Linked DNA regions of Homo sapiens: regions 2, 3, 4, 5, 6 and 7 are each linked to region 1. Evidence: promoter capture Hi-C in 16 types of primary human blood cells and fetal thymus (Javierre and others, 2016). All regions are on one chromosome and are shown on one strand. Each heading gives the region's core, a stretch centred on a gene start or on the middle of the fragment in contact. The rest is flanking DNA. Distances are from core to core; before and after follow the strand shown. Region 1 holds the start of PLCD4 (phospholipase C delta 4). Region 2 has its middle 13 kb from the start of CXCR1. Region 3 has its middle 14 kb from the start of CXCR1. Region 4 holds the start of TRY-ATA1-1 (tRNA-Tyr (anticodon ATA) 1-1). Region 5 overlaps LINC01494 (long intergenic non-protein coding RNA 1494). Region 6 overlaps WNT6 (Wnt family member 6). Region 7 overlaps PNKD (PNKD metallo-beta-lactamase domain containing).

Region 1 (3,330 bases), core at 237-2,736:
TCTAAGAGACTTCATGTCACCTAGAGATGGACTTTGGCAGAGTTACCAATGGCACCAAGGAGATTACAGTGGGATTCAGGGTGTCTCAGGTCTCTCTGAGGGGCAAGAAAGAAGAGAATCATTTTGTCTACTCCCTTGCTTCTGAGAAGGATTATGCCTAACCTGGTTCATATAGAGGACAAATTGGCTCTGGTCACAGGTCACAGAATGTTGGAGCTTGAAGGTTCTTTTTTTTTTTTTTTTTGAGACAGAGTCTCGCTGTCGCCCAGGCTGGAGTGCAGTGGTGCGATCTTGGCTCACTGCAGGCTCCGCCCCCCGGGGTTCACGCTATTCTCCTGCCTCAGCCTCCCGAGTAGCTGGGACTACAGGCACCCGCCACCCACCTCGCCCGGCTAATTTTTTGTATTTTCAGTAGAGACGGGGTTTCACCATGTTAGCCAGGATGGTCTCAATCTCCTGACCTCGTGATCCACCCGCCTCGGCCTCCCAAAGTGCTGGGATTACAGGTGTGAGCCACCGCGCCCGGCCAGTTCTTTTATAACACATCTAATCCAGACATTCCCAGCTACATCAATAGCCTCTGGAATGTCTTGAAATTGAGATCCTTAGCCCTACCCAAAAATCTACCAGATCAGAGTTACCCAGGGTGGGGCTCAATAATATATTTATTTTTAACAAGTACACTTGGTACACAGGCAAGTCTGGGAAACCCTAAACTCTCTCGTATCACAGATCTGGAAGTTGTGGCTCCAGGTCCCGTAGCTAGTTAATGGCACAGGCAGAACTAGAAGTAGGTTTTCTTACCAACGTAGCACTCTGGTGCACTAAGAAACTGCTCTGGCCCATGGAATAGGCAAAGAACAAGTTCTTTAGAGAACTTTCTAAGGGACTTTCATAACTCTCTCTATTACCAGGGATCTCTGATTCCCCATGGTTCTTGGCCAACCCCTATTTTGCAACCCTCAACAAACTGTTAATGAATCTATGCTAAAGCTTAGCTACTCCAATTTTTTCTTCCCTTATTGGGGGTGGAGTTCACCTCAGGAGTGGCTAGGGTTGGCACTTCTGGCCCTGCATAAGCTAAGAGGTACCTCATATAAAGGGCGACTGACACAGCCAGGAGGAAAGCTGTAAGGATAAAGGAGGATAAGCTAGAGAGAACCAGGAGGTGGGAGCCCTGTAGAGCTGTTGGGATGAGGAAAGGAGTCTAGGGTACAATTTAATCAGGGTGGATAAGCATCTAGAGGGCAGAGGTAGGGACTCAGGGAAGACAGAGCTTAGAGCAGAGGGTAGTCAGAGCTTCCAGATCCTTACCGTGGGCAGGAGAGCAGAATAGCAGTCCTGTGTTTCCTGTGTCTGTGAGCTGTGCCTCCCGAGCTCTGCGATGCTGTGGGATCAGGAAGCCCAGCCTGGCTCCTTTTCTCTTTTGCTCCCCTTGCACTGGCTTGTTTCCTCCCCTCTTCTACAGCAGCTGGCTGCTGTGACTGGCAAGTTATAGCCGGAGGGAAGCAGTAAGAAGGGGAGAGGTGTGAGCTCTCTCCAGTCCAGCCCATCCAACTCTTAAAGGCCCAGGACACTGGTCAATGTGAGGGAGTAGTGGGGGTGGGGTGGGGAGAGAAGGATTAAGGGCAGCACATCTCCAGGGAGGAGCCTGGCTGCCCTTCATCTTGATGCCAGCCCTCATTGACCCCAATCCCGCAGTAGCTCTCAAAGTGAAGGGAGTGTCCTCAGTTGCAGTGCTCTGTGAATCACTGCTTTTCATTCTGGTTCCTGCATGTAATACGGCTGTTTTTGCCCTTATTTAATCTGGCTCCTTTCCATAGTGTCTGTTTCCACTGGCCTGCTCCTGTATCTCTGAATCCTGCCTGCAGGGCACTCACTGTAGCTCCGTCCCACAGGAAAAGAAAGAAATAAGATGGGAAAAGAGGAAGACGAGGAGAAGGGGAGGACAGGAATGATGATAGAATGTAGAGGGACAGATAGGTTAGAATCTATGTATATTTTAGGCACTCATTAAATATTGAAAGAATGCATAGATGAACGTGTGAAACAGCTCATTTTTTTTTAAACATCCATTCGTTCCTCCTACAAGCATCTGTTCAGCACCTCTGGGTTATAAGTCATAGCCCTCAGAATGGAGGTAGCACCTTCAGGACATACATGCATGTTTATAAAGATGTGTGCAGAGATGAAGCATAGGCTCAGAGGGGAACTGTGTGAAATGGTGTAATTTTAAGTGTGCTGACGTCTGGCTGCCTATCATGGTTTCCACAAGCATCCCTCAACTGCCTAATATTTTACCATTAGTGATTATAGCTACATTTTTTAGTCCCATTAAAATAAAATCCTCCTAAGTGATTACTATAAAAGTCAGGATAGTGGTTACTGTTGGGAGGGGGAGGAATTGTGGTGAGATGGGACACAGAGGGGGCTTCTGGCATAGCTAGCTAAACTCTATTTCTAGTTCTAAGTGCTAACAAGGGTCTTCACTTAATAATTTATTAAGCTATACATTCTCTTGATATATTTTCTATATGTGTTTTTAAATTTATTTTTTTAGGTCTCATTTAAAATATCATATATCTGTGTTAACTTTTGAAGGCTTAATGATTTTAAATATACATATATGTATATGTATATGTGTGTGTGTGTATATATATATATATATATATTTTTTTTTTTTTTTTTTTTTTTTTTTGAGATAAGAGTCTCGCTGTTGCCCAGGCTGGAGTGCAATGGCGTGATCTTGGCTTACTGCAACCTCTACCTCCCGGGTTCAAGCAATTCTCCTGTCTCAGCCTCCTGAGTAGCTGGGATTACAGGTGCATGCCACCACCCCCAGCTACTTTTTTTTGTATTTTAGTAGAGACGGGGTTTCACCGTGTTGCCCAGGCTGGTCTTGAGCTCCTGAGCTCAGGCAATCCACCTGCCTTGGCCTCCCAAAGTGCTAGGATTACAGGCGTAAGCCACTGCACCCAGCCGATTATAAATAATTTTTTAAAAATTCAATCCTAAGGTCAAAGTAGATTTTAAATAATTTATACCTAGGTTGGGTTGTCTATATTCTTTACTGAGAGCAGGTTTTGATAGAAGAGTAGTAGTATGAAGGAAGGGGACACATTAGGAGGGAGGCCATTCATGGGGAACAGGAAGATTGGGGGGCATCGTAGTTTAAACTGTGCTGATTTCAGATTTGACTTAATAGAGGCCCTGTTTTACATGCTTGTCTTGCTCTCCCATTTCTACTTCCCCAACATGGCCAGCTTATTTTTCCAAGCCTCACCTTCACAGTCCACACTCCTCTTCTATACCCCCAGATTATATACCATC
Region 2 (3,330 bases), core at 561-3,060, 450 kb after region 1:
GAAATTTCCTGTAGGGTCACTGGAACAAAGAGATCTATCTGGGGGTCCTAGTGTACCACAAGCTGAACCTGAAGATTTGGAAAAATGTTTCTAATTAAATAAAACAGAGCAAAAAGACAGACTTAGTTGCTGTGTTACTTGAATCTTCACTTAAATTTTCAGAACCTTGGTTTCCGCTCCCATAAAATGAAGTTTGAATAGGCAAGCTTCCTTCCAGTTCTAAGAATGGGAGATGCTCGAAATCTAAGAGTGTACTGCGATGGACAAACAGGACTATAGCTCTAGTGAACTTGACATGAAACATCCATCTTTGCCCAGATCGTGATTATCCACAATTAGGTGCCCTGTGAAGGCCAGTTCTTAGTATGTGTTTTCCAGGCAGCTGCTGACCAAGTCTGACCTGAGGAGTTCCTAGAAGGCCTCTCTCTGTCCCCTTCTCTTTCTCCTCTCTTCCACCTCCCCATCCAATATTTCCCTCCCTGGTCTGTCAGCCATTCTTTTATTTGGCCTAGGCAGGCCTCTTAGAAAAAGAGCAAATGCCCCTGGGTTGGGGGAATTCTTTCAGTCATTAAGCCAGGGATGAGAATGGAGTTTTGAAATTGTTCTCCAGCATAGGATCCTCTTTTCTAAGCCTTCAACTTCATGAGCAAATGGGCACACTCCAGTCCAACGTGTAAGCTCAGCCTCTCACTAACAGGTAGGTCTGTGCTCACTGGTAGGACCGCACTTTGGACTTAGATGCTAACATTAATCTGTTGGAAGATTTTGCAAGGAGACAGAGAGAGGAGCAATCTGGGATTCCTGAGGGCTTTGTTGCAAGGGAAGAGCAACGAGTTGTTGAAAGGCACCCAGGCCGGGTGCAGTGGCTTACACCTGTAATCCCAGCACTTTGGGAGGCTGAGGCGGGTGGATCACTTGAGGTCAGGAGTTTGAGACCAGCCTGGCCAACATGGCAAAACCCTTTCTCTACTAAAAATACAAAAATTAGCCAGGCATGGTGGCGCACACCTGTAGTATTCCCAGCTACTGGGGAGGCTGAGGCAGGAGAATCGCTTTGAGCCCAAGAGGTGGTGGTTGCAGTGAGCTGAGATCGCACCACTGCACTCCAGCCTGGGTGACAGAGTGAGACTCTGTCCCCCCCCCCCCAAAAAAAAAAGACCCAAAGATCAGCTGCTTCCGCCCTATTTCCATGAAATTGTCACTTTGATCCCTGAATTCTATTTTAGATTCTACAACACAAGGAGAACCCTTATCTAAATCCTTATATGTATAGTGTGTTTCCCGTGATATCATAATTGAAGACTTACTCTGTGCCAGGCACTGAAAAAAACACTTTTTACATAAATTATTTTATTTAATGGTCATCAAGACCTGATGGTAGGAATTATTATTATCCTTATTTTACAGAAGAGGAAAATAAGGGCCAAAGAGATTAAGTCCCTCACTCAAGATAACAGCAGCGGGTAAGTGGCAAAACTGGAGTTTAAGTCAAGGACCAGCTGCCTTCGGAGTCTGAGCTCTCAACTGCTGTGTGACACACAGAGAGGTGCTGTGGTGGAGAGAGAGCCACAGGGTGAATTTGCGGTAGCCTAGGGCTTAGTCTATCCCGACTTGTGTGATCGTGAGCAAGTAATTTAACTTCTCTGGACCCCTCCCTCCTTGAAGGGATGGCAGCATTGGAAGCTTGTTGTCAAGGTTCAGGGTAATGTATGCCAGGCTTTCAGGGTAGACTAAGGTCTCCATAAATGGCAAACATTATTTATCACAGCAGAGAAGTCTTGGAAAGGCAAGTCCACTGGGAAATCGGGATGTAACTCCAAATCCTCTAACTGTGATGGCAGTGTTTCCTACATGATGTCATAGCTCCAGGGAGTTGGGAGGAGAGTTGAGATATACCTCTTTCCAAGAGATGTTTTGAGATGAAAAGATAAAGCTTGGAAAGTGATCAAGGTATATCCTTGTTCCTGTGACATCCATTTTTTTCTCTTCTGGATTGCCCATCAGCTCACAAGCCTGTTGTAGGAGTTCCCATCTTATAACAACCCTCCCTTGATCCCACATCTCATCAGCTACGGTCCTATTTTTCTGCTCCACTTTGCAGCTAAGGTCTGAGGCCCACTGCTCAAAGGGTGCTTCAAGTCTGTGAGGGGAGATTAGCAACATTGAGCAGAGTCTCAGTTTGAACCTAAACTGGGCTCACTCTGGAATTCACGTAAGTCAGTGCAAGCAATGTCCCTGAAAGAAATGAAGGGTTGAGAGCTCTTAGGGAGGAGCTCATTTCTGGGGGTCAGGAGGAAAGCACACAGGCCTGCTAAAGGCAATGCCTCAGGGTTGGGGCTTAGGGAGACCTTGAGGGCTACAGGAGTTGAGTGCTGAGGCCAAGACCAACCCAGGTCCAGGGCTTCTCACCTAAGTAGTAGGGAGATGGGGCTGGGAGTGAAAGTGAAAAAAACTGGGGAGATTTTGGCAGTGCCAGCAACACACTCAGGGAAACCTGGCCCTGTTCCCCTGCAGGTGGCCGGGTTGGAACTGGTAGAGGGTGGAGGCAAACTTGGCAAATGGGTACAGGCAGCCTCAGGGATGCATGTGGGAGGAGGGACCTTGGAAGGCTACCTGAGGTGCTGAGTCACAGGCTGACTCATGGGGTACACAGGTACAGAGTGTGAACACAGAAAGAGCCAAAAAAAGGGTAAAAAAAGAAAAAAAGCACTCATATTTCCACCACTCAAAGTCAACCCAGTGCACATTTTGGTTTATTGCCTTCTAGCATTAAAAAACAATAAAGAGTTGATTTTTCAGAGTGGTTTTAGGTTCACAGCAAAATTGAACAGAAAACCTTCTAGTAATTTTTCTTTACTTTACTTTTTTTTTTCTTTTGAGTTAGAATTTTGCTCTTCTCGCCCAGGCTGGAGTGCAATGGTGTGATCTCGGCACACTGCAACCTCTGCCTCCTGGGTTCAAGCGATTCTCCTGCCTCAGCCTCCCGAGTAGCTGGGATTTCAGGCACCTGCCATCATGCCCGGCTAATTTTTGCATTTTTAGTAGCGATGGGATTTCACCATGTTGGCCAGGATAGTCTTGAACTCCTGACCTCAGGTGATACACCCGCCTCGGCTTCCCAAAGTACTGAGATTAAAGGTGTGAGCCACTGCGCCCAGCCACATTTTTTCATTGCGGTATTTCTTCTTGAATGTTTCAATGTCATGTGTCATAGCATCACAATGTCTTGTCAGTACAGCTTAGGTTCATACTATTTTCGTTGAATAATTTAATGCAGTTTTCATGTTATTATGTTTCAATCTTTTTTCATTTTTAAAAATCAGCCTACAT
Region 3 (3,330 bases), core at 570-3,069, 430 kb after region 1:
ATAAAGATGCATCAGCGATGAGTCCATGAGTTTTGGCAATTGGAAGAATAGTTGCCATCCATTGAGCTAAGATGAGAATTCTGTTCTGCTGTTTCTCCTCTCCACTCCTTCAGTATTTCATCTATCTAACACATATTTAACTGGCATCAAGACTGGCTACATAATTTTCAGTACCCATTACAAAATGAAATTGTAAGCCTCTTTTCATTTTTTTAAAATTTTTATTTATTTATTATTTTTTTTTGAGACAGAGTCTCACTCTGTCACCCAGGCTAGAGTGCAGTGGCACAGTCTTGGCTCACTGCAACCTCCGCCTCCCGGGTTCAAGTGATTCTCTTGTCTCAGCCTCCTGAGTAGCTGGGACTACAGGTGCATGCCACCACGCCTGGCTAATTTTTGTATTTTTTAGTAGAGATGGGGTTTCACCATATTGGCCAGGCTGGTCTTGAACTCCTGACCTTGTGATCCTCCCACCTTGGCCTCCCAAAGTGCTGAGATTACAGGCATGAGTCACCGTGCCTGTCCTAATTTTTTAAAATTAAAATTAAAAAAAATTTTTTTTTTGAGACAGGGTCTTGCTCTGTTACCCAGGCTGCAGTGCAATGGCTTGATCATGGCTCACTACAGCCTCAACTCCCTGGGCTCAAGCAATCGTCATGCCTCAGCCCTGCAAGTAGCTGGGACTACAGGCACACACCACCATGCCTGGCTAATTTTTGTATTTTTGTAGAGACAGGGTTGCGCCATGTTGCCTAGGCTGGTCTCAAACTTCTGGACTCAAGTGATCCACCTGCTTCAGCCTCCCAAAGCATTGGGATTACAGGCATCAGCCACTGTGCCTGGCCAGGCCCCTTGTTTAAATGCTGGAGAAAGCTTTTTCCTTTCTTCCTTTGTCTTGCCCTTGACTGGAAAAAGGTGTGGGGATGTGTGTGTATGTGTGTCTGTGTGTGTAAATAAGTTTATTGATGAAGACACAAAGTCAAGCTTCCCCCAATTCCCACCCTTCCCAAGAACACATCCCAACAAGAACAGAGGAATGAGACTCATTCTTAGGGCAACATTTACCTATCCTCGTTTCCCCATTTCCCACCAGAGTCCCAAGCTTTATGACACAGACACATGCAGCAGACTGGGGTAAGGACAGACACTCGGGGAATCTCTGACCAGCAAAAGAGCTCTGGATGTTGGCTTCCCTTGCCCTTTGTATGACAAAGGCATTCAGAAGCAGAGGAGAGGGGAATGTGGGGCAACTCCCACCGGACATCCCCAGTTTGGCCAAAAGAGCTGTGGCAGAGGCAACAGTTCTGTTTGTTGGCAGAGAGGTCCTTTGATAGGAAGTAGGATACTTCCTCCGCTCAGGGGTGTGATGTGAGGCAGCCTCCTCAGGGAGGTAAGCATTCATGGATTAGCTCAGCCAGGGCAGCTGAGAACAGGAGCTGTTACCTGTCACTGGTGGGGAAGCTAAGAGAAGCCTCGCTTCAGGGCATGAGGGACACATCCTGATACAAAATGGTGTTGTCCTCTTGCCCTGACATACATGGTTTCCTTGGGAAGTATAGTTTGCTTTGAGATGAGAACACTGTATTTGCAGTGCGAACGTTCTTCACCATTTATAGCCATTGATTCCACAAAAGAGTCCCAACAAGGGAACTTTATCACCTGCTTTTTCACCCCACACATCACTGAAACTGCCTTTGGAAAATTATGACTGAGACAGTGAAATAGATCTAACTTAATCAACTCCATCTTGCTGCTAACCTCCAAGCTGTCATTGTTTATTTCTGGGCATAGGCTGAACTAACTTTGATAGAGACTCAGTTTAGAGTTTATAGTTTAAAACAAAGACGATAACAGCCCTTTCCCAAAGCAGACCTTCTTGCCTGGGGACTAGACGGCCTTTGTAGGGCTAACATTAGCCAAAAGATTAGAAATTATAATTTAGGAGTCATGCAGCTGGAGGCTACAAGATTCTGACCCTCCCTAAACCGCTCCTAAGATCAGTGCTTGAGACATTTTGCAGACTCTGCACTTGATGGATCAGCTGCACCACCCAGATCATAAACTGGCTCATCTGAACTTGTGGCCCCCACCTAGGAACTGACTCAGCACAAGATGACAGCTTCGACTCCCTATGATTTCGTCCCTGACCAATCAGCACTCCTCGCTCACTGGCTTTCCCCACCCACCAAGTTTTCCTTAAAAACTCTGCTCCCTGCTTGTTCCAGACTGACTGGAGTAATAATAAAACCCCAGTCTTCCACACAGCTAGCTCTGTGTGAATTCCTCTTTCTCCATTGCAGTTCCTCTGTCTTGAGGAATTGGCTCCATCTAGGCAGCGCGCAAGGTGAACCCCTTGGGTAGTTACATCACTGACTGTCCACCTCCCATACACAATCCTGTGCTATCTCCTGTTGCCCACGTGCCTGAGGGATGGTGAGCAAGGGACATAGTTCCCTTCCCAACCCCAGGCATTCTTCTCTTGGAGAGTCTCAGGGCTTAGGAAACGGTGTTGGGGGACCCATTTTCCCAAGCTTTGTGACTGGTATGAAGTGGGGTCATTTGAGACACGATGAGGCTGGAGGGTAGTTTTTGCTCTCGTTTTCTTCGAGTCCTCCTCTGAGGCCAGCACGTTAGATCTGAGTCCAATATGAGGCCTCTGGACGCCAGCATGCCTCTCATTTGAGCAGGGGCATCTGAGAAGAGCATTCTCGGTCATGGACCCTGAAGACTGAGTGCCAGGCAATGCCACAAGTGCCCAAGATCAAACAGTGCTACATTGCTAACAGGTTGGTGTTTGAGGCACGAAACATTCTTTGACAAATCATAACCACTGTGTTAAGGTGGGGATATTTCACATCCCCCCATCTTTTCAGAGATGACAAGAACTGCTTGAACCTCTGGGGTAATCTTCATATGCCCTGCAGCCCAAGTAACAAGAAGAAAGAGCAGATCGAGAGCTGAAGGGATAAAAAGAATTTGTGGCATCTCTAAGCTCATTTCATCGCTGTATTCACTGGACAGAGTGTTTCTTATTTGCTTTTAATGTTGCAACCCCTGGGGCACAGGGATACTTGTGGGGCAAGTTCAGACTGTCATGGGAGCCTGGGCCCTGATGTTGACCTGCCTTGTGGCTGCACCAAAGCTACCTCCAAGGGATGAGTGTCAGGCCTCTGAGCCCAAGCCAAGCCATCGCATCCCCTGTGACTTGCACGTATACATCCAGATGGCCTGAAGTAACTGAAGATCCACAAAAGAAGTAAAAATACCCTTAACTGATGACATTCCACCATTGTGATTTGTGTCTGCCTCACCCTAACTGATCAATGTACT
Region 4 (3,330 bases), core at 596-3,095, 360 kb after region 1:
CCGAGTAGCTGGGATTACAGGCGCACACCACCACGCCCAGCTAATTTCTTTGTTATTTTTTTGGTAGAGACGGAGTGTTTCACCATGTTGGTCAGGCTGGTCTCGAACTCCTGACCTCAGGTGATCTGCCCATGTTGGCCTCCCACAGTGCTAGGATTACAGGCGTGAGACACCGCACCCAGCCTCAACTCTTTTTTTTTTTTTTTGGAGACAAGAGTCTTGTTCTGTTGCCCAGGCTGGAGTCCAGTGGCACGATCTCAGCTCATTACAACCTCCACCTCCCGGGTTCAAGCAATTCTCCTGCCTCAGCCTCTGGAGTACCTGGGACTACAGACGTGCGCCACCATGCCCAGCTAATTTTTTTTTGTATTTTAGTAGAGACAGAGTTTCACCACATTGGCCAGGATGATCTTGATCTCCTGACCTCGTGATCCACCTGCCTTAACCTCCCAAAGTGCTGTGATTACAGCCATGAACCACCGTGCCCAGCCAAAACTGTACTTGTCTCCTTCAAGCTGGAATCGAACCAGCAACCTAAGGACGTCTCCTACTGAGGAAGTAGCTATAGTCCTCTGCTCTACCAGCTGAACTATTGAAGGGACCTTAACTCTTGATATCAGAATTCAGTCTTATTTTTAAGATTTAAGAAAAATGGGGAAAAAAAGGAAAGGATTACTGTACAAAAATAGCATATGGCCTGCTCTGTAATTAATACCCTGTGACATCCCTCCTTTAGTCACTGCAATGGCAACAGGAACAAGTTGGTATGCCTGCGTTTGCCTACCTTAAAATGTTAACCAAGGTTCTGTGCAGATTTAGGTATTCTGCTGTGTGAACTCATTAAAGCGGCACAAAAGCAGCAAGTGCACCCTGCTCACCAAAGGTAATGTAGCCAATGTTGTCACCCACAGCGGCGTCTGTGTCTTTCAGCTCCAGAGGAGGTTCCCTGTGGCTAAAGAGGACCTGTGGGGCTGTGTGGCTGGCTCTGCGTCCTTCTTTGAACTCCTGCCAAGACAAAGCAAAAGCAACCAGAAGAGAAGTGGGTGTAAGATGAGTGGCAACTCAAGCTATAGGGTTTGTTCTATGTGGTGTGACCTTTGTAGCCCTCCAGACCAGCAGGAGGTTAAAAATAAACTACACCAAACCTGAAATATGACAAGTGCTAGCTGCTACCACTACACTTCAGATTCAAACGGGAGAGACTGCAAAGTACTTAATAAGTCAGATCTTCAAAATGTGATGAAAAGTAGTGATAATCCTTTTCCTTTGCACTAACATAGGTGATAAACTACCATACTTTCTCTGGGCTCTGGGACTTTGCATGAGTCTTTTTTCACTGAGGATCCTGTTGCTATTTAGAATTCATCAATAAAATCTTTAGAGCAAACTTAAGCTCTTCTTGCGGACAGAAGACAATGGAATGAAAGAAGCTGAGTTGTCTTGGTGCTCATAAAGGAAGCCCTTCCTTCTATGTTCCAATCTCCAAACCTGAAGCTTCTACAGTCCATACATTCCTATGTAAATAGACAAGTAATACAAGGCTTCTCTCTCTCAGCCAGATCTGCAAGAACAGAAGTAGATTTTCTAGCAATGCCAGTAAAACTGGATAATCCAAATTCATCAAGTGGGCCTTCCAAGATGATAGACAGCAGGAGGATGCTGCCAAGGACTCTCCAAGGTCTCTTGTTTTAGGAGTTCTGAAGGCATGGTTACACAGCCATGTGGCCTGCGTGCCCTTCTACTGCTGCTCAAATACTGCCTCCTAATACCATCTCCAACAAACCCAGGCAGGTACTGCTCTCTTGCTGGAGCTGCCATGTCTTTTCTACAAACCTCTACTATGATATTTTACCATTCATTAATGTATCTGGCTCCCCTACCAGGTTATGAGTTCAAATCAAAGATCCTGCTTAATTTATCTTTGTAATTTATTCTTCTGTCTTTCAAAGAGGCTATGCAGCACATGCCTTGCTGAGAGAAAGCAAGTGCTTCTACCCTAGCTGGTTTAGTATCATCACACTGTACAGGAATAGGCAAGGGCTGTTTCCAGTTGCAGGCAGGAAGAATAAACACTGATTAGCAAGCCCTCTCGACAATTAGTGGCAAAAGAAAGATGATGGCTGAGGAGCCCCAATGCCCAGCCTGGGACCTCACCTATTTCACAAACTGCCTCTCATGCTAACACTACCAAGCTTTAAGTAGGAAAAGAAATGACCATCAACTGGGTTAGATTAGTCCCCTTTTGAACAGATTTTGTTCCCCGAAGGAAAAATATCCAAAAAGGAAGGGAAGGAGTCAAGATTATCCCAAATGGAAATTTCTAGAGCAAAGCTTCTAAAATCGCCCTTCTCTAGAAAACATTTTTTATTCTACAAAGGGGTTAAGAAGCTTTTTAACTTTTACTGGTTTTACTTTTCGGTATTAAGGAATTAAACAGAACAGATACGTAACTGTTGGCATTTTCTTGTGTCTGTTAAGTGTCTCCAAGGCTCTAATTCACAGGTACATGTGGTATTCACAATGAGATGGGGTATTTATAAACCAGTGGTGACTTATTAGCACTCATTAGTTTTGTATATGGAAAATAACATATTTAAGGCTCGGTCAACGATACGTTTCTGGCTTGGGCCTATTCTTTCTTTCTTTTTTGAGACAGGGTCTCACTCTGTCACCCAGGCTGGAGTGCAGTGGCGTGATCTTGGCTCACTGCAACCTCCACCTCCTAGGTTCAAGTGATTTTCATGTGTCAGCCTCACGAGTAGCTGAGATTACAGGCGTGTGCCATCATTCCCGGCTAATTTTTGGCCTTTAAAGTAGAAACAGGGTTTCACCATGTTGGCCAGGCTGGTCTCAAACTGGCCTCTAGTGATCCACCTGCCTAGGCCCCGCAAAGTGCTGGGATTACAGGCGTGAGCCACTGTGCCTGACTGGGACTATTCTTTAGATTCTCTGATGTCTTTGCTTCTCCTCAGTTCTCTCTCCTAAATAAAGCTTAAACAAACAAACACACCCAAACAGCCCTCCATCTTCATTGGCATCTTTGTTATACGTAATCAAGCAATATTGCCTTTTTACTCTCCTTCTGGCTAGGATGTCTTTTGAGCATCAGATTATTTCTCTCTTCCAAAGTACTATTTATCATAGGAAGTTCGGAATAAATCCAAATATATACAAGGCATTTAGCATATGATAAAAGTAGCATCTTAAATCAGGGGTGTAAAAAAGGAAATAATTGCCACTGGGACCACTGGATAGCCATTTAGGAAAAAAAGATCATTCTTTCATACCATACAACAAGAGGAGCTCTCAACAAATAAGAAAAAATCATGT
Region 5 (3,330 bases), core at 401-2,900, 310 kb before region 1:
ACTAACTTGTTTTTTATTTTACAGGCTCATAGGCGGAAGGGGCTTGCCTTGTCTCAGATGAGACTTTGGACTTAGACTTTTGAGTTAATGCTGGAATGAGTTAAGACTTTGGGGGACTGTTGGGAAGGCATGCTTGGCTTTGAAATGTGATGACATGAGATTTTGGAGGGGCCAGGGGTGGAATGATATGGTTTGGCTCTGTCCTCACCCAAATCTCATTTCGAATTGTAATCCCCACATGTGGGGGGAGGGGCCTGGTGGCAGGTGATTGAATCATTGGGGTGGAGTTCCCGCTTGCTATTCTTGTGAGAGTGAGTTCTCACAAGATCTGGTTGTTCAAAAGTGTGTGGCACTTCCCTCTTCACTCTCGCTCTTTCCTGCTCCACCACGGTAAGACATGCTTGATTCCCCTAACCCCTCCACCACAATTGTAAGTTACCAGCCATGCTTCCTGTTAAGCCTGTGGAAATGTGAGGAAATTAAACCTCTTTTCTTCATAAATTACTCAGTCTCAGGTAGTTCTTTATAGTTAAAATGGATTAATATATCATGTGTTGATGAAGTTCCTGTTATTCCCTCCTTACCCTCCTACGTGGATTATCTAAAGATATTTATTTCACTCCCACAAAAATGTTTTGTTCTCACCCATTCCCGAGAGCTGAAAGTAGGCTGTGGGAACTTTGAGTGAGAAAATAAGAGCAGCCTACTCCCCCTGACCATATTCCTGCCTGATGGCCAGTATTTGGGTGACACTTCACCCTGCCACCAATTTTTTGAGTCCTATTTCCCACAGACTCTGTGTTAGTCCATTCTTGTGCTGCTATAAAGAAATACCTGAGACTAGGTAATTTATAAAGAAAACAGGCTTTGATTTGGCTCACGTTTCTGCAGGCTGTACAGGAAGCATGGTGCCAGCATCAGCTTCTTGTGAAGGCCTCAGGAAGCTTTCAATCATGGCACAAAGTGAAGGGGAGCCAGCACATCACATGGTGAAGAGAGGGCGCAAAAGAGAGAAGGGGGAGGTCTCAGATTCTTTTAAACAACCAGTTCTCATGTGAACTAACTGGGAGAGAACATCACCAAGAAATGGTGCTAAGCCATTTGTGAAGGATCCACCCCCATGATCAAATCACCTCCCACCAGGTCTCACCTCTAACAGTGACGGTTACATTTCAACATGAGATTTGAAGAGGACAAACACCCCAAACATAACAGACTCACTTGTGACTTTGCCCTGTAAACTTTCAGGGAAAATGAGGTCACTTCTGACCCAGAGACTCTGTCATCTTACCCTCTCCTGGGGGTCTTCATCTAAAGAAGTAAGTGTAAATTCCTTACTGATCCAGTTTTGTATGTGTATGTGTGTGTATACACAAAATTTACTATATAGAAAGTAAATTCTTCTACTATATATATGCATTATATATATACACATTATAATGTATATATATAATGTATATATAAATATATATAATTGTGTGTGTGTGTGTGTGTGTGTATATATATATATATATATACAGTAGAAGAATTCAGAGGTGTTAGAAATTATGAAGAGGGGCCAGGCACGGTGGCTCACGCCTGTAATCCCAGCACTTTGGGAGGCCAAGGCGGGCGGATCACGAGGTCAGGAGATCGAGACCATCCTGGCTAATGCGGTGAAACCCAGTCTCTACTAAAAATACAAATATTAGCCAGGCGTGGTGGCGGGTGCCTGTAGTCCCAGCTACTCGGGAGGCTGAGGCAGGAGAATGGCATGAACCCAGGAGGCAGAGCTTGCAGTGAGCTGAGATCATGCCACTGCACTCCAGCCTGGGCGACAGAGCGAGACTCCATCTCAAAAAAAAAAAAAAAGAAAGAAATTATGAAGAGGATTATAAGATAACTACCACAGAAGGCAGGTGGAAGTGGTCTCTGTGGAGAAGGAAGAATTGGGGAAGAGCCCACAAGGAACACACGAGACCATCGTTATATTTGTTTCTCACCCTGAGTAGTGGGTACACAGATGTTCACTGGACTATTAATCTTTAAAATGTACATATATATTTAACACATTGAAGTGTACATGATGGATTTCATAATTTTTTTAAAGTAAAATATTGTGAAAGGGAAGGGAAGGAAGGAAAGGAAGGCAAATGAAAGGAAAAGAAAGGAAGAAAGAAAGAAGGAGGGAGGATGGGAGGAAGAAAGAAAACTGGATTTGTTAATAGGAAAGAATATATCAATGTCAAATCCCCATTCTAGGCTAGCATTATTCAGCATCCAGAAGGATCATCTCAACAATTACTCAGTGGATCAGCTTATTTAATTGATGACTGTACAGTTAATTCATGCTCAAAAATCAAACATTCTAAGCTTCTTTCTATGAATATCTTCCAGACCAAGATTATTCATCTCATGGTTTTAAAGGACAGAATTTCCTGGAGAATGTTGGTCCTCTTGTAGGTGCTACTGCAGCAAAGTTGAAACAATCATACGTCAGACCAAAATACAAGTCAGTTCTTCAGTTTTCACTAATTAAAATTAACTCTGTCTAAATAAATCAACTCTTACCACCTTCAGGATTCATATCTCAAGTAAGAGACATTCTTACTGACCAATAACACAAAATATCCCACCCTCAGCACTAGGATCCTCAGTTTTGAATTCTTTCAACCATTTTTGTCAAAAGCCTTGCTGTAGCCAGGTGTGGTGGCACATTCCTGTAATCTCAGCTACTCGGGAGGCTGAGGAGGGCAGATCCATTGTCCCTAGGAGTTGAAGGCCAGCCTGGGCAACATAGCAAGACTCTGTCTCAAAAAAAAAAAAAATACATGACAACAATAACATGAAAGCCAGGAGAATGCTAAAATGAATTAAAGTGTCATAAGGTCCCTAGAGTTATTTAGAAAAGGGTGAAAGTACTAATTCAAGGGTGACCTAATTAAGCCAAGGATGCATGCTATAATATGTGGGTAATAAAATAACAATAATAGCAAACACGTGACTACTAATTTATAGAGGATGAAAATGAAATAATTAGGAAAATATTGATTGATCCAAAAGAAGGCAAGAAAGAGGTAAAAAGAAACAAAAAACAGATGTGAAAAATGGAAAAAAATGGCAAAATGGTATACTTTAAACCCTACAGTATCAGTAATTACCATAATATAAATCAATTAAAGGCAAAGATTTTCAGACTGGACAAGAAAAAAAAAACAACTATATGCTGTTATAGAAGACACACCTTAAACATAAGGATGCATAAAGGTTGGAAATAAAGGGATTTTTGGCCAGGTGTGGTGGCTCATGCCTGTAATCCTAGCACTTTGGGAGGCTGAGGTGGGTGGATCA
Region 6 (3,330 bases), core at 367-2,866, 270 kb before region 1:
CCAAGCTGAGTTCTGACCAATCATGACCTCAAAAATCCTGAGAAGTGATTACTTTGGGGTTGTTTGTTATGTAGCAATGGATAACTGAAACAGAGCGAAATCCCTTTGTATAAAGAAAATGAGGCTAATTTGGCCTCTGTTGTAAAGTTCTAAGCAGCAGCACCAACTGCAAACCCAGAGTGTCTGACCCCAAAGCTCATTTTTTGTCCTCCATACCTTGATGGGGGAGTCATTCCCCATTGCAGTATTTGGACTGGAGGAAAGTTGGAGGCTCTGGGTCCTGGAAGTTGGGCTATGCCATCCCTCTTTCTCTCTGGAGGAAGATGAGAGCTCAAGCTTCAGCTCTGGAGAATCCAGAACTGCCCTCTGTCTCCTCACTTTCACCAGTAGCTTCCCAAGAGGAACCAGAAGGAAGGAAATATTGTTGGGTGTCAAGAGGTATGCATCAGAAGCTTCTGATGCCCCTGTCCCTTTAAAGAGGAATTGCTAGTTCTTCTCCAGCTTGCAGATCCAGGACCTAGATGTGTGACAGGAGTGAACAAGAAGAATGCCAAGGGGAGATAGCGAGTTTCCAGGAGAGGCCAACCTGGTCGGGAGATAGGGACCCAGGTGATAGCCCCTGAGGTGCTAGTTCTAGCAAAACCACCTTCTTCTGGAGCCTGGCAGCCTGAAGATCAGTCTCCCCCAAAACTGTGGGTCCAGCCCTGGTGGTTTAAATATCTTTATTGATACTAACCTCACCCACCATCCTGTGGCCAGCAGTTCTGGGGAGCCCAGTATCCAGAGGCCTTTAGACTGGCTTTTTTCCAGTCTAAAAAACTGTTTCCTCCTAGAGGCCAAGGGGAGGGAGGGCCTGTACAGTGTCCTTTAAACGCTCCCCGAGCGCCTTTTCGGGGCCGTCTGGCGCCCTGGGCCTTCGTGGGTGGGCGTTCCTCTCAAGCCCCTCGCCTCACCATTTCCAGAGCCCTGGGAGTTGGGCTTTGGCAGGGAGAGGCTGGGCTCGAGCGGCGAGAGGCGCCCGGTGCCGGTGCCCTGAGGTCCCACAGGTGCGAGCCACCGCTGCGCGAAGTCAGTCTAGCGGCCGGGCGGCGGGTCACAGGCAGAGGCTGAGCTCCTTGCGCACACGGCAGCGGTGGCACTGTACTACGCAGCACCAGTGGAAGCGGCACAGGCAGTTCTCTTCGAGCTGCACGCTCTCCTGGCGGTGCCCGCGGCCGCAGCACAGCAGGTCGCAGCCGCTGAGGTCCGGGGCGCTGCTATTGCAGGCGCGACCGCGCGTGCCGGGGGAGCCGGTGCGTCGGTTGGGGGCGCAGAAGTCGGGCGAATCGGCGGCGTAGAGGAGGTCCGCTCGGCCCGGCGGCTTGAGCGTGCGGACGGCGGGCAGCAGGGCCTTGCCGTCGTTGGTGCCCATGACGCGTGAGGCGCCGTGGAAGCGCTCCAGCAGCCGCGCGCCCACCTCGCGAAATGGAGGCAGCTTCTGCCAGCAGGTGCGCAGCGCGCATGATCCCGACAGCCCGTGGCATTTGCACTCGGTGCGCGTGTGGCTCCGCACGGCCTGCGGGAGGCAGAGGGGCGGACGCATGTGGACAGGTAGGGGGTGCAGGGAAGGGCCCAGCGGATGGACAGAAAATAAGATTGGGAATGGGAGGTGAAAGGAAGAGAGGAAAATGCAGACAAAAGGAGACCGCAAGTTCAGGGGGAGGAAATCAAGGAAAGGACAACTCGGAGGGGAGGAGCAGGAGGAATGGTGAGGATGGAGGAATATGATGATGACGAAGAGGGGAGACGGGGACAATATGCAGCGCAGAGATTCCAGGGTCCAAAGGCAGGGGGTGGGGGAGAAAGCAGAATGGACAGCAGGGGTGAGATTCTCTTTGGAGGAGGGGAGAGGTGGCAGCTGTCGAAGTCTAGCTCTCCTGCCTACCTGGCCCCCTCATTCCTACCCCTCACGGCCCCCAGGCCGGGCTGAGCACAGACGCAGAGCCAGCCTCCTGGGCATCTGTCTCCGTCACCCCTCCCCAACCCTCTCGGCAGGTATGTGGGCCTGTCCGGACATTCCTCTTCAGGCCCCCTCCTCCCCCTGCCCGATGCCTCAGGCCCGAACCCTAGAGGACACGGTATGTATGGCGATGTCCCTGGAGAACGCTAGAACGGAGGCATGGGGTGCAGGAGGGCCCGCTGGGAATGCAGTACTGAGAGTGGAACCCAGGCGGCCTCTCCCCTAGTCACTGTCTGAAGCAGGGTCTAAGATTCCCAAACCCACCAAGCGCTGATGGTTCAGAAGACCCAAGAAAATCATTTCTGGAAGCTCAGAGTCCAGGGGCTAACCTGACCATGTGTCCCACTCCCACCTCCTGAGTCTGCCCTGCCCCCTCCTGGAACCATCACACCCAGACAACCTTCTTGCCCCTGAATGAGAGCTCCTGGGGCTCTCCTCGTTACAGAGGGGAGAGGAGAGGCTGCCATGGCTCTGGGCAGGTGAGACCTGGGCTGGTGTTGCTGGGCAGCCAGTTGGCAAATGCCCAGAATTGGTCACAGCTGTCCTGGCCTCCACCTGACTCCCTCCAACCTCCACTAGGATTGGTTCCTTGTCCTTCGCTCTTTTCCATTGCCCCTCAGACCTGTTCTAACTCTTTCTAGGCCTCTCTCACTCCCCCTGGCTTCCCTGTACCAAAACCCCAGACCTTGCATTAGCTTCTATCCTGTCTTTCATCCCCACCTTTGTTTTATTCTCCTGCCCCTGCCTAGGCATCCAGACCTCCTACCCACTGCAAGCTTTGCTTCACCTGTCCTGTCTTGAAGCTGTGCCCTCTCTGCCTGGGGTCACTAAAGACCCTCAGTCCTATTCCCTGAGTGTCCCTTCCCCCATTCTGCCCGCTGTACCGTCCAGCATCTGGCCTTCTCAGACCCCCACGTGACTCCTTCTTGGAGGCTGGACACCTCTCCTCCCACATGTCCATCCATGCTTGCAGCCCATCTTTCCGCCCGTGCGCACTCCCCCACACATTAACGCCCCCCTCCACCTACACACCCTCACTCCTGCCAACACTTCCTCAAGCACACTCCTGCGCGCACACTCACATTTCCGCACACACTCACTCCATCCTGCCCGTACGCACCAGCCTGCCCGCCTCGTTGTTGTGCAGTTGCACCAACGCGCGGATGTCTCCGCGTCCCCGCTTGTGCCGCGCGTCCATAAAGAGCCTCGACTTCTCGTCCCCGAAGTCCACGTCGTCGCCGCAGCCTCCCCACTCCCAGGCGGCGCTGCCTTCCGGGGAGCCCGCGGGGCCAGGGGGTCCGGGGGTGCCGGGCAGGCCGGAGGGCCGGGGA
Region 7 (3,330 bases), core at 581-3,080, 260 kb after region 1:
CAAGGTCAGGAGATCAAGGCCATCCTGGCTAACACGGTGAAACCCTGTCTCGACTAAAAATACGAAAAATTAGCTGGGTGTGTGGCATGCACCTGTAGTCCCAGCTACTTGGGAGGCTGAGGCAGGAGAATCGCTTGAACCCGGGAGGTGGAGGTTGTAGTGAGCCGAGATCGCACCACTGCACTCCAGCCTGGTGACAGAGGGAGACTCTGTCTCAAAAAACAAAAAAAAGAAGACAGCCGCCCCGTCCGGGAGGGAGGCGGGGTCCAGCCCCCGGCCGGCCAGCCGCCCCATCAGGGAGGGAGGGGGGGACAGCCCCCGCCCGGCCAGCCGCCCCGTCCGGGAGGTTGGGGGCGCCTCCGCCCGGCCGCCGCCCCGTTGGGAGGTGGGGGGCGCCTCTGCCCGGCCACCCCTTCTGGGAAGTGAGGAGCCCCTCTGCCTGGCGGCCACCCCATCTGGGAGGTGTACCCAACAGCTCATTGAGAACGGGCCATGATGACGATGGTGGTTTTGTGGAATAGAAAAGGGGGAAATGCGGGGAAAAGATAGAGAAATCAGATTGTTGCTGTGTCTGTGTAGAAAGAAGTAGACATAGGAGACTCCATTTTGTTCCGTACTAAGAAAAATTCTTCTGCCTTGGGATGCTGTTGATCTATGACCTTACCCCCAACCCTGTGCTCTCTGAAACATGTGCTGTGTCCACTCAGGGTTAAATGGATTAAGGGCGGTGCAAGATGTGCTTTGTTAAACAGATGCTCGAAGGCAGCATGCTCGTTAAGAGTCATCACCACTCCCTAATCTCAAGTACCCAGGGACACAAACACTGCGGAAGGCCGCAGGGTCCTCTGCCTAGGAAAACCAGAGACCTTTGTTCACTTGTTTATCTGCTGACCTTCCCTCCACTATTGTCCTATAACCCTGCCAAATCCCCCTCTGCGAGAAACACCCAAGAATGATCAATTAAAAATAAATAAATAAATAAATAAAAGAAGACATACATGTGGACAACAAACATATGAATAAAAGCTCAACATCACTCATCATTAGAGAAATGCAAATCAAAACCACAATGAGATACCATCTCACACAAGTCAGAATGGCTGTTATTAAAAAGTCAAAAAATAACAGACGCTGGAAAGGTTGTAGAGTAAAAGGAACGCTTATACACTGTTGGCGGGAGTGTAAATTTGTTCAACCAAAGTGGAAGACAGTGTGGTGTTTCCTCAAAGACCTAAAGACAGAACTACCATTCGACCCAGCAATCCCATTACTGGTTATATACCCAAAGGAATATAAGTTGTTCTATTATAATGATATGGTGTGGCTTTTTGTCCCCACCCAAATTTCATCTTTTTTTTTTTTGGGACAGAATCTCCCTCTGTTGCCCAGGCTGGAGTACAGTGGTGCGATCTTGGCCTACTTCAACCTCTGCCTCCCGGGTTCAGCGATTCTCGTGCCTCAGTCTCCTGGGTAGCTGGGATTACAGGCGCTCACCATCATGCCTTGCTAAGTTTTGTATTTTTAGTAGAGACGGGGTTTCACCATGTTGGCCAGGATGGTCGTGATCTCCTGACCTCGTGATCCGCCTGCCTCAGCCTCCCAAAGTGCTGGGATTACAGGCGTGAGCCACCACGCCCGGCCCTTTAATCATTTTTATGAACTGAAAACCAGTGTCACTTGTCAAAAATAAATATTGAACCCAAATATAAATATAATGAAAACAAAACGATGTTGTTAAAGCTTAACTACAGACATTTCCCAACTAAAGTATGAACCTGGATCCCGGGTCTTTCTTTCCAAAGACATTAAAGACAGACTAGTGCCAAGACCGTGTCCTTGAAGTCCAATTGATTGCTGTGCTGTGGCCATGTACAGCCACCCTACTTTGGCCAGTGGTACACTTGTGTATCTCAAGCTTTGGGAAACATTGAGATAAGCAAATCGTAAACCCTGAACAAATGCCCATGGGCCTTGGGAAGAACATATTTTAGGCATCATTTCTCTCTCTCTTTTTAAAAAAATTTTTTTTTTTTTTGAGACAGAGTCTCATTCTGTCGCCCAGGCTGGAGTGCAGTGGTGCGATCTCGGCTCACTGCAACCTCCGCCTCCTGGGTTCACGTGATTCTCCTGCCTCAGCCTCCTGAGTAGCTGGGATTATAGGCTCCTGCCACTATGTCTGGCTAATTTTTTGTATTTGTAGTACAGATGAGGTTTCACTATGTTGGCCAGACTGGTCTCGAACTCCTGACCTTGTGATCCACCCGCCTCAGCCTCCTAAAGAGCTGGGATTATAGGTGTGAGCCACTGCGCCCAGCCTTTGGGCATCATTTCTGATCAAAACTCTTGAAGTGCCTAACTGCAAGTTAGCAGGCCTGGAACTGAGATGGGAAAACTGTGAGAAAGTTCTCTGCTGTTTTCACTCATGTAGCAACAAAGACAAGCTGTTGGGTGATCAAGTCTTGATTAAATCATTCATTCATTCAACATTTATTGAGCGCCTACTGTGTGCTAGGCACCGTGCTAGGCGCAGAAATACAGAGATGCATAAGATACAGTCCATGCCCTTAAGGATTCACAGTCTAGAAGGGGAGACAAACATGTAAACAAGTAAAATACAGTGTGATAAGTGCCACAAGAGAAGCATTGACAAAGTGCAGAGGTAGCCTGGAGGGGAGGGGCACAGGGGTTGCCTTCCTGGAGGAGGGGGCCTTTGAGGGGATCGTGAGAGATGAACTTGCCAGGCAGACAAGGCAGGAGGAGCAGGGGAAGGCATTCCAGTCGGAAGAAACAGCATGAGCGAAGGCACAGAGGCATGAAACTGCATGTCTTGCTTGGTGAGTGGGGAACTCTAACTAGTCTGGTGGTATTGCTAAAGTGTACTAGAGGCTGTGGCTAGAGAAGGGGGCAGAGGCCAGATCATGAGGGGAAACTGAGGGCAGGGGCATCTTGGAGGGTCACCAGAGGTGAGCAGAGCCCGAGGGCAGGCTTTGACACAGGAAAAGAGGGCTCCTGGCTGACTCAAGGTACACCTGCCTGAGGACCACAGGGTTCCTCGCTGTGGCTCCAAAGGGATCTCGACCCAAGAGTAGAGGAGCAGCAGAGCTGGAGGTGAAGCAGAGGGGTCGGGCCAGGTCTGGGACCCAGAGCTGCCATGCACTCCCGCGCTCTCACAGACTTCTGATTTCCAACCTGCACGTCAGAGCCCCCTCCTGCCAGCCGGATGGGGGCCTGGATCCAGTGGGAAATCACATGGGAATATGGCTGGCAAACTGCAAAGGGCCAGATGAGTGTCAGGTTACAGAATAAATCTTTACTAACTCAAAGAAGAAA

What was found. Contacts are between HindIII fragments. The CHiCAGO score rates a contact against its expected background, and 5 or more counts as called.
Region 2: a fragment that was not itself captured here is called in contact with the fragment with the promoter of PLCD4 in region 1 in 1 of 17 cell types (erythroblasts); the score reaches 5.3 in erythroblasts.
Region 3: a contact is called between a fragment that was not itself captured here and the fragment with the promoter of PLCD4 in region 1, in 1 of 17 cell types (erythroblasts). The highest score is 7.5, in erythroblasts.
Region 4: a contact is called between a fragment that was not itself captured here and the fragment with the promoter of PLCD4 in region 1, in 1 of 17 cell types (erythroblasts). The highest score is 5.5, in erythroblasts.
Region 5: a fragment that was not itself captured here is called in contact with the fragment with the promoter of PLCD4 in region 1 in 1 of 17 cell types (M2 macrophages); the score reaches 6.1 in M2 macrophages.
Region 6: a fragment that was not itself captured here is called in contact with the fragment with the promoter of PLCD4 in region 1 in 1 of 17 cell types (M0 macrophages); the score reaches 5.2 in M0 macrophages.
Region 7: a contact is called between a fragment that was not itself captured here and the fragment with the promoter of PLCD4 in region 1, in 1 of 17 cell types (total CD8 T cells). The highest score is 5.6, in total CD8 T cells.

What each region holds. Positions count from the first base shown.
Region 1 is chr2:218,606,055-218,609,384 of GRCh38, reverse strand. It overlaps PLCD4 (phospholipase C delta 4), which reads right to left and starts at 1,486. Exons shown (of 16, transcript NM_032726.4): 1 at 1,315-1,486. The HindIII fragment of the contact is 12,670 bases long and covers 996-3,330 here.
Region 2 is chr2:218,152,211-218,155,540 of GRCh38, reverse strand. No RefSeq gene overlaps it. Among named protein-coding and RNA genes, the nearest start is that of CXCR1, 13 kb to the left of the region's middle. The HindIII fragment of the contact is 250 bases long and covers 1,686-1,935 here.
Region 3 is chr2:218,179,717-218,183,046 of GRCh38, reverse strand. No RefSeq gene overlaps it. Among named protein-coding and RNA genes, the nearest start is that of CXCR1, 14 kb to the right of the region's middle. The HindIII fragment of the contact is 1,429 bases long and covers 1,105-2,533 here.
Region 4 is chr2:218,243,095-218,246,424 of GRCh38, reverse strand. ARPC2 (actin related protein 2/3 complex subunit 2) reads right to left here. Exons shown (of 11, transcript NM_152862.3): 8 at 879-1,005. TRY-ATA1-1 (tRNA-Tyr (anticodon ATA) 1-1) reads right to left here and starts at 599; the gene lies at 507-599. The HindIII fragment of the contact is 698 bases long and covers 1,497-2,194 here.
Region 5 is chr2:218,919,679-218,923,008 of GRCh38, reverse strand. It overlaps LINC01494 (long intergenic non-protein coding RNA 1494), which reads left to right. Exons shown (of 5, transcript NR_110238.1): 3 at 1,249-1,319. LOC124906119 (a long non-coding RNA gene) reads right to left here. Exons shown (of 2, transcript XR_007088090.1): 2 at 2,285-2,448. Among named protein-coding and RNA genes, the nearest start is that of LINC01494, 9.3 kb to the left of the region's middle. The HindIII fragment of the contact is 1,408 bases long and covers 947-2,354 here.
Region 6 is chr2:218,871,609-218,874,938 of GRCh38, reverse strand. It overlaps WNT6 (Wnt family member 6), which reads right to left. Exons shown (of 4, transcript NM_006522.4): 3 at 3,120-3,330; 4 at 706-1,555. The coding sequence ends at 1,094. It also overlaps a transcript of WNT10A not described here. Among named protein-coding and RNA genes, the nearest start is that of WNT10A, 7.6 kb to the left of the region's middle. RefSeq lists an enhancer at 2,338-3,284. The HindIII fragment of the contact is 2,323 bases long and covers 455-2,777 here.
Region 7 is chr2:218,345,921-218,349,250 of GRCh38, reverse strand. It overlaps PNKD (PNKD metallo-beta-lactamase domain containing), which reads right to left. Exons shown (of 10, transcript NM_015488.5): 10 at 2,458-3,330. All of the region lies in intron 2 of CATIP-AS2 (CATIP antisense RNA 2), which reads left to right. Among named protein-coding and RNA genes, the nearest start is that of MIR6810, 5.7 kb to the right of the region's middle. RefSeq lists an enhancer at 1-337. The HindIII fragment of the contact is 175 bases long and covers 1,743-1,917 here.